Linked DNA regions of Homo sapiens: region 2 is linked to region 1. Evidence: promoter capture Hi-C in 16 types of primary human blood cells and fetal thymus (Javierre and others, 2016). All regions are on one chromosome and are shown on one strand. Each heading gives the region's core, a stretch centred on a gene start or on the middle of the fragment in contact. The rest is flanking DNA. Distances are from core to core; before and after follow the strand shown. Region 1 holds the start of MSMO1 (methylsterol monooxygenase 1). Region 2 overlaps NDUFC1 (NADH:ubiquinone oxidoreductase subunit C1).

Evidence for each region. The method cuts DNA at HindIII sites, captures the fragments that hold promoters and counts their contacts. A CHiCAGO score of 5 or more calls a contact.
Region 2: a contact is called between a fragment that was not itself captured here and the fragment with the promoter of MSMO1 in region 1, in 1 of 17 cell types (naive CD8 T cells). The highest score is 5.5, in naive CD8 T cells.

What each region holds. Positions count from the first base shown.
Region 1 is chr4:165,324,711-165,328,963 of GRCh38, reverse strand. MSMO1 (methylsterol monooxygenase 1) reads right to left here and starts at 1,295. Exons shown (of 6, transcript NM_006745.5): 1 at 1,200-1,295. RefSeq lists an enhancer at 997-1,266 and a silencer at 1,357-1,696. The HindIII fragment of the contact is 2,277 bases long and covers 463-2,739 here.
Region 2 is chr4:139,294,601-139,299,227 of GRCh38, reverse strand. It overlaps NDUFC1 (NADH:ubiquinone oxidoreductase subunit C1), which reads left to right. Exons shown (of 6, transcript NM_001184989.2): 2 at 1,785-1,843; 3 at 3,268-3,496; 4 at 4,082-4,185. The coding sequence starts at 3,430. Among named protein-coding and RNA genes, the nearest start is that of NAA15, 4.6 kb to the left of the region's middle. RefSeq lists an enhancer at 3,074-3,637. The HindIII fragment of the contact is 539 bases long and covers 2,054-2,592 here.

The sequences.
Region 1 (4,253 bases), core at 46-2,545:
CAGGTCCAAAGGTTCAGTATGTGCTCCTCACAACCCCCGCCCAAATACTAGGCCTCCTTTAATGCCTAATTCTCAGACATAACGTTTTAAGTCTCTCCCATTCTGCTGCCTTAAGTCTTCAAACTCTTACCCAATTTAGAAACACTTGGTTTAGTTAACATTCAGGAATTTACTTTTCACAAAGGAGCGAGGGAATGGATATACTGTTGCTAACCGAACAAGGAATTAAAGAGGAGAGGGGAAACAAGGTCTTGGAAAATTGAATTTCCTTTTCCTTTACTCATTCTTGGGCAACCTAAATGACTGGAAGCCTGTTCTGGAACAGGTTGACTAGATAAATTTAGTTATTTGTGGATTCTCAGAAACCTTGAAGTTTAGCTGTCAGCCAGTCTCTGTCCTTTGGCACTTTAACACGGATTTCACCAGCTCCTTCATTTTCTGGACTTGCCCTGCCTCCAAGCTTGCCCTTCCTAAACCTTATTTCTAAGATGCAATGCCACGATCTATATAAATTTAAACATCAGAGATAACCTCCTTAAAACACTCAAAGTTCAAGGGAGTGCTTGCCCTAAGCATAAAGATCAAGCCCCGCTGTGATTGATGCACACGAGGCCCTTCCAGACTTCTTCACTCTTCATTTCTTACATTCTCGCCATCCTACACTTCACATTTTTGCAGTATCTGATCACTCATGGTTGCTACTGCTTCATTCCTCTCTGCCCACGGAAATATCGTTCCCTTACAGGTGATGTCCTCCCATTCAACTCCTAGTCATCCTTCAGTAACCTCCTCTCGGACGCCCTTCCCAACCCCACTACTCCCAAAGCACACTACATCTTACCTCCTTCTAGTGGTTCCTGCTTTTGTATAACTTTCGCCAGCCTATCACCCTGTGCTGCAACTATCTTCTACGTCCTGTCTCCCGAAGACAACACATTTTAAAGGGCAAGAAACATGCCCTAGCCTAGTTCCATCACTTAAGAATTTCACTCCGTTTTCATCCTTTCTAGCACGTACCTTAGCCTAGGCCCACCTTCACTCCAGTCTCCTTCCGCCCCGTCTCGGGTACCACTGCCAGCGTCCCGCCCAGCGCGTGCATCCGCACCCAGAACCCGCTCCCCTCGATCTCACGGAGCACCGGGTGGGAGCCCGCCTGCTCCCCCTTCCTCGCTCATGAGCCACTCCTCCAACCCCCTCACCTGAACGGCCGCGAGATGACTGCCGGCCACCGACACCGAGGACTCGCCAGGTGTTCCAACCTCGGAACCTGCCTCGCCTGGCTTGGGGGTGGAGCCGGGTGGGCCAGGCGGCCCGTCCTGTCGTTATTGGCCTGCGAGAGCTCCCGCCCCGCCTTCTCGGCGCGGTGATTGGTCTGTGCAGTTGCCGACATCGTGTGACTCGCGCGAACGAGCTCCTGGCGGTCCCAGCCATTGGCTCCGCGGATGGAGTGAGGATAGTGAGACCTGCAGAGCCAGCCAATGGTCGGCACCGCGGAGCGCCCGGAGGCGGGGAAGCGTGAGAGCGCGCCACGGCGTGAGGGGGCGGGCACAGACGGATGGCCGCCTCGCCCTGCAGCGCGGAGTCGCCTTGGCAACTGCGGTCCCGGCAGATTCCCAGTGAGAGCCTGCGCTGTGCGGGGGAGAGTGTCGCGCCGGCCGCCGTCCCAGGACTTTTATTTCAAATGTGACCTGTGTAGCAACCGCAGTTCCCAAACCCGGGAAGAAGAGAGTATAGATGAGTCTTAAAATCTATGTTGACTGTTTTGTGTTTCCAGACACCCTTGCCTTCCTTTTTCTGGTCTACCATTTAGATTTAGATCTTTCGTCTCCCTTGTTTCCCCAGCCTACGTATCCTTTAATAAATTCCTGCATTTTGAAAACGGAGAATTTCAAATGCGATTATCGTCATTTTGCAGATGAGAAATAAAGGCTGGGAAAGATTTAAAAAGATTGAACATCAAGGGAGAGTTCGGCTCCCAGGACCTTGACCTCGCTACATGGGCAGAGAACGCCCAGGTGTTGTTGCAATTGTTGTGCTGGACGATGAGTGCCCGGGGGCGGGGGCGGGGGCGGGGGCTTGACGCAGGTCTTTGCAGCTCTAAAGCTCAGTTTACACCATCTCTCAACATTAAAATATTGTGTACTGGGGTTTAATAATAAAACTGTACAGATGTGATAATATACTAAAACTTTCACTTAACGGAAGAGGTGCCTTTAAAGAAAAAACCGCACAGGGGCATCATTTGGGCTAGTGAAGGCCCTTTTTCCTCCTTCTTTATTAAGGTATAATTGACAAAAATTGTGTTTACGGCGTACACATGTTTTGATTATGTGTATATTGTGTCAAATATATACAGCTTCTGAAAACAGAATACTATTGTTTCATTCCTCCATGCTTTTGCTCAAACTGGCCCTTCTGCCTGGAATAATCAGCCATCTCCATGCCGCCCCATCAATTCAGGTACTATCTCCTTGAGGAAGTTCCCTCTTGAAAAGTGTCTTTTTTAGATTCAGTGTGACCTGTACTTATTCGTCTATCCCTCATGTTTGGCACACACATTCTTTGTAAAGTATCATGACAGCGGTCACGTCAAATGAAAAGAAATGGGATCTGTCCCTTGGTTGTCAGAGTCAGCCCTGTCTTTAGGATGCCTTTACAGTGGTGTCTGAAACCATGCCTATATACTTTATGAAGTTAATCTGGGAAAAAGGGGTGGGGGGAACGAAATTAAACCAAGCTTGCAGCACACTGAGGATTAATAATTAGGTCAGCTTGCTGTCTGACCCCTTCCTCATAATTGTTTGCCTATTGCTTCAGAATCATGTAGACTCTGTTACAAGGTTATAGTTTCCCCTAACTGCTCTATAGACAACAACTTGAACATTATGAAACGTTAAGTTTGTGCTTTGAGATAACCTTTCAGGTCCTTCGTACTGATGAAACTACTGACTCAGCTGGTCTGACAAGGAGCTGACTCACCAAAGAATGCAGTTCCCACATCCTGATGGTTTCATTCCTCCTTACCCCAGCCAATCGAGGACCCTAATTTTCCAGCCCATTGCCCTCCAGGATCCCCTTAAAAGCCCCAGCACAGAACTCCTCAGAGAGATGAATTTGAGGGTTTCCTCCCATCTCCTCTCGGCACCCTGCCATCACTAAACTCTTTCTCTTCTGCAAACCCTGCTGTCTCAGTGTATACTGTGCAGTGGGCATATGAATCTGTTGGTCCTGTAGTGGATGCTGTGGCACACCACCCAGATCCCCCTCTTCAAGACCTAAGCAGGCATTCCTCCAGCTGCTGAGTACTGCCAAAGAGAAGCACCTCTCCCCACGGGTATACCCCCTTTCTAGGCAACAGCTAGTCAAGTAACTGGTTGAAACGGGTATAAAATCCCCTAAACCAATGTAGGGCTACTTTGCTTGGCCATCCCAGCTCCAGAGCTCCCCATCCTATTGGTTGTGTGATGACTGCACTGCCACCCAACTTTTCTCTCTGCCCAAACCTGCCATCCTCTATCAGGTGAGCATCAATAGCACACACTATCGGGCCACACTTACTAGGCTTGGCATTTTATTAGCAGTGGATAAGTTACTTCTCTGTCTTATCTGGTACTTCTGTGAAATAATAATACCTACACCTCGAAGAGTTATTTATGATGATTACATGAGATAACGTATGTAAAGCCCTTTGCACAGTCTCTGGCATACAAGATATGATCAGTAAATGTCAGCAATTATTTCTGATTTGGAATTCTACCACAGTATTACATTTTCTAAATCAGAGCAGGTGTAGGTGTATGGAGGGGTCAGATTATTTTAAACCTTAAAGGCTTAGAGCTGGAAAAAAATGCTGATGCAGCAGCTCAACTCACTTATTTCCCTACAATGAAGATTAACAGGGGGCTCAGGGAACAATAGCTGTAATTTATTGAGGGCCCGCTGGATTTCAAGCATATTAACATGCATCATTTCTTTCAAACGCAACAACCTTGTGACACAGACACTCCTATTGCCATTTTAAAAACAAAATAAGGATTAGAGGTTAAGTAATGTGTTGAAAGTCACAGCTAGCAATTGATAGAGGGAGCTGCAAACCCAGAACCCTTTTGTTTCTATGCCCATGGGCTTTCCAATATACCACATGGCTTTTTTCCTTAAAGCCAGGATTAGAACCCCAGAATCTTGACTCAAAATATAGTTCCATTCTCCAGCGTAGCCTCCTCTCCAAAATGAGACACTGGCAGCCATGGAAG
Region 2 (4,627 bases), core at 1,074-3,573, about 26 Mb after region 1:
GGGAGGCTGAGGCGGGCGGATCACAAGGTCAGGAGTTCAAGACCAGCCTGACCAACATGGTGAAACCCCGTCTCTACTAAAAATACAAAAATTAGCCGGGTGTGGTGGTGCGTGCCTGTAACCCCAGCTATCCAGGAGGCTGAGGCAAGACAATCGCTTGAACCTGGGAGGTGGAGGTTGCAGTGAGCCAAGATCGCACCACTGCACTCCAGCCTGGACAACAGAGTGAGACTACATCTCAAAAAAAAAAACATAGGCCAGGCATAATGCCTCATACCTATAATCCCGACACTGGGAGGCTGAGGCAGGAAGATCGCTTGAGCCCAGAAGTTTGAGACCAACCTGGGCAACATAGTGAGACCCTGTCTCTACAAAAAAATTTTAAAATTTGCCAGGTGTGGTGCTGTGAGCCTGTAGTCCCAGCTACTTTGTGGGCTTGGGTGGGAAGATTCCTTCGGCCCCAGAGGTCGAGACTGCAGTGAGCTGTGATGACACCTCTGCTCTCCGGCCTGGGCAACAGAGCTGAGACCTTGTTCCAAAAAAAAAAAAAGAATATAAAAGAAATTCATGTATTTGTCACCTAGATTTAACAAATGTTAACAATTTGCTATTGCTTCTGGGTTTTTTTTGTGTGTGTGTATAGACAGGATTTCTCAATGTTGCCCAGGCTACTCTTGAACTCCTGGGCTTAAGCAATCCACCCACCGCAGCCTCCCAAAGTGCTGGGATTATAGATGTGAGCCCCAACGCCCGGCCTGCTGCTGAATCTTTTTTTTTTTTTTTTTTTTTGAGACAGAGTTTCGCTCTTGTCGCCCAGGCTAGAGTGCAATGGTGCGATCTCAGCTCACCGCAACTCTGCCTCCTGGGTTCAAGCGATTTTCCTGCCTCAGCCTCCCGAGTAGCTGGAATTACAGGCATGCACCACCATGCCCGGCTAATTTTGTATTTTTAGTAGAGACAGGGTTTCTCCATGTTGGTCAGGCTGGTCTTGAACTCCCGACCTCAGGTGATCCGCCCGCCTCGGCCTCCCAAAGTGCTGGGATTACAGGCGTGAGCCAGGGCGCCCAGCTGCTGAGTCTTAAAAAATAAAAACTTATAGATACATCTTGGTGTGTGGGGAGGTGGGAGGTTGTTGGTTTTTTTCTTTTGTTTTGTTTTTGTGACAGGGTCTCACTGTGTCACCGAGGCTGGAGTACAGTGGCAGAGTCTTGGCTTACTGTAGCCTCACCTCCCAGGTCCAAGCGATCTTCCAACCTCAGCCTCCCGAGTAGCTGGAACCACAGACATGCACCACCACACCCAGCTAATTTTTTAAAAAATCATTTTGTAGAGATAGTTATCTACCTATGTTGCACAGGCCAGTCTTGACCTCCTGGACTCAGGCAATCCATTTACCTTGTTCTCACAAAGTGCTAGGATTAGAGGCCTGAGCCACTGTGACTGGCCCAAGTCCTAAGTTTGATTCATAGTATTCTCATGCATGCTGTATCAATAAAAATAGGGATTTTTTGTTTTGTTTTTTGCATTTTATACTGTTTTTCAATTCTTGCTCTTTTTTTACCTTCCTTGGGAGATGTGATTTTTTCCCAGTGGAAAAATCTTGGACTGAAACTTTGCTTTTCTAGCTGCTAACTCAAATCCTCTCTCTTTTCACCTGGATCATAAATAAGATTTTAGTGTTCAAATTCTGAAGATGCTTACATGAATGTTATGAAGCAACTTCTAACAAAATATTATAGATATTAGTTCCTAGCTGGAATTACTTAATCAGGATTCTTTTCTAGATGCAGTTTCACATACAGCTGGGTACTCCAAGTGTACAGTTCCCATCAGCTCTAATATGGTGAGAAAAATGTGCTTATACTTCATCACTTTCCCAAAATACACACTAGTAAAAGGATACAAGGGCCAAAGCTCTGAAAAAGAACAAAGCAGTCTTTCTCAATAGCAGTACTGAAATTAGTAATTTGCTTACTGGTTCTGAATACTCTGACTAAAGATAGCATCTGTTTCAACTTGTTGGATACTAGCAAAAGCTTCATCAGGACAAGCTTCCAACGGATGGTGTAGAAAGGATATACAACTGACAGGTTGCTGAGTGGACAATAAGTGGCGAACCAACAACTGGCTCAGCACATTCATTGGGTAGTTTACTTACTTGAGCATGAGTCCAGGAGGCTCAAACTAGGTTACAAACTAAAGTGACTCACAATTTAGCAATCCATTTAGCCACCATTTGCATGTTAAAATGAGCCAGAAAACACAGTGCAATTAATTGACTTTTTGGTCAATAATTTTTGGTTAAAAAAGATCTTAAAATAACATTGCTAAAGAGAATATAGGAGATTTGCTAACATTTATTTTGGTTTTAAAATTAATGACATAAAGTTTAAAGGATTAGTTTTAAAGGGTCAAAATGTATTGTCTGTTACCTATAAATATTTTTACTGGTCTTTAGACATCAGATTGAACTGAATTGAATGTACAAAGATCTGGCTCAACTGTGCAAGATAAAACCTATTCCTCAGAACGATGTCTTTAATAGGCAAAACCAAATAAATTGTTTACTACTACCAGACACTTGTTTAAGCTTCTCAGCAACCCTATAGGTTTTATGTTACAGATGTAAAACTTAGGTATAGAGAGGTTAAGTAATTTGCCTAGAAATCATAGAGCTAAAAAGTGGTGAGCAGAATGGCTTTGAACGCTGATTCTACAGCTTATGGTCTAGGGTGGTCCAAGTCTGTTAGGTGGGCTAATGAGGATCACTAGATCTGGAGTCAGAAGACCTCAAACTGTATCCCACCTCTGCCATCTGTGTGATCTTAAGCCTACCTAAGGCACTAATTCTACTTCACAGGTTTGTGAGGCTTCAGTATGATCGTGAGTGTAAGTGGTAAGTGTTAAGAGATCTTTTCAACTGTAAAATATAATATGTCACCTTGGATGAGTAGCTGTCTTCTTTAAGCTTCATCTGTAAATTGAGGCTTATAACCACGGCATGATATGTGCTCGTTTTGAAGATGAAATAAGACAATGAATGTAAACCATATGATACATTAATGCACCGTGCCTGGACCACAGAATTCAATCCAAATGCTAGTTATTATTCAGCACGACACTTTTCTTTCTTCTGGCTCATGTAGGAAAATTTTAATAAACCTCTTGATGAATAGCCGTAGAGATGGGGTGAAAAACCCCCAGAGGACAGAGAATAGGTAAACTCTTTTTTCTTTTAATTATTTTCTTCCTAATTCCACTGTATAGACAGAAGGCTGAGGCCGGGGTGCTAGAGAACCTTGCCGTGCTGGAATTCACGTTGACGCCCCCACGGAGCTCTGCTGCAGAGCCCTCGAGTCCCGCACTTCCGGCCGCCAGGTGGCGCTGGTTCTGTTGCCAACTCGGAGAGACTGAGCTGGGCCACGCAAGATGGCGCCGTCCGCCTTGCTGCGTCCCCTTTCCCGGCTGCTGGCCCCCGCCAGGCTCCCGAGCGGCCGTGAGTATCCTCCTCGTGCAGGCCGACTCGACCCTCAGATTACCCCTCCTAAGGCGGACCCAGCCCACGGGTGCAGGAGGCGGCAGCGGCCCGGGTTCGTCCTGCAGTGACCTTCGCCGGCAGACGACCCAAGGCCCAGCCCACGCCTGTCCCCTACGCAGGGCTCTCTGCTCCCCATCACCCGCCTCTAGCACTTATCCAAGTTCAACCTGACCACTCTTGGCCTTTGTAAATGGACTTTGGGTCCTTGCCTTCCCCACCTCTGTACGTTAGGTCCCGTAAACCGGGAGAGGAGACACCCTCCCCGGGGCGCCCCTTACATGACCACTCCCGAGTCGTCTGAGGGTCCGCAAGCCCTTAAACGAGGCTTTGAAAGCCTCGGACAGGACAGGTGCGTCCTGTCTAACTCGCCAGTGGCCCTGGGCGAGGTACTTGATCTCTTTGAACCTCTATTTCCTTGGCTGTTTAAGTGGGAGATGGGGGAGTTGAAGGGAGAATTAAATGCGATAATACGCACGTAAATGTTAGGGTTTTTTCCCTACAAGGCAGTAAGTTACAAATTTACAGACCCTCTTCCCCTTTCAGCTTCAGTGCGATCAAAGTTCTACGTGCGAGAGCCGCCGAATGCCAAACCTGACTGGCTGAAAGTTGGGTTCACCTTGGGCACCACTGTCTTCTTGTGGATCTATGTAAGTACTTTACTCCCGGATGTCGTGAGACTACACCAGCGTGGTAAGGGAATGACATAACATTGCGAGATTGAATGGTGCTGTTATATGTTGTATGGCAGTGAAACTCTCATAACAGTAGGATATTTATATAATCGCTGATACGTATTTTTCCATAAGAGAAATCCCAAGGACTAAAAAGAAATTAAGATTTCAGCAACATTGAAAAAGTATGATGGGACTAAAATTTCTGTTATTGTTCCTTAACATGGTTTTGTAAGGAATGGCAGTTTTACTAAATAGTAATTATACTTTTTTTTTTTTTTTTTGAGATGGAGTCTCACTCTGTCTCCCAGGCTGGAGTGCAGTGGCGTGATCTCGGCTCACTGAAAGCTCTGCCTCGCGGGTTCACGCCATTCTCCTGCCTCAGCCTCCCAAGTAGCTAGGACTACAGGCGCCCGCC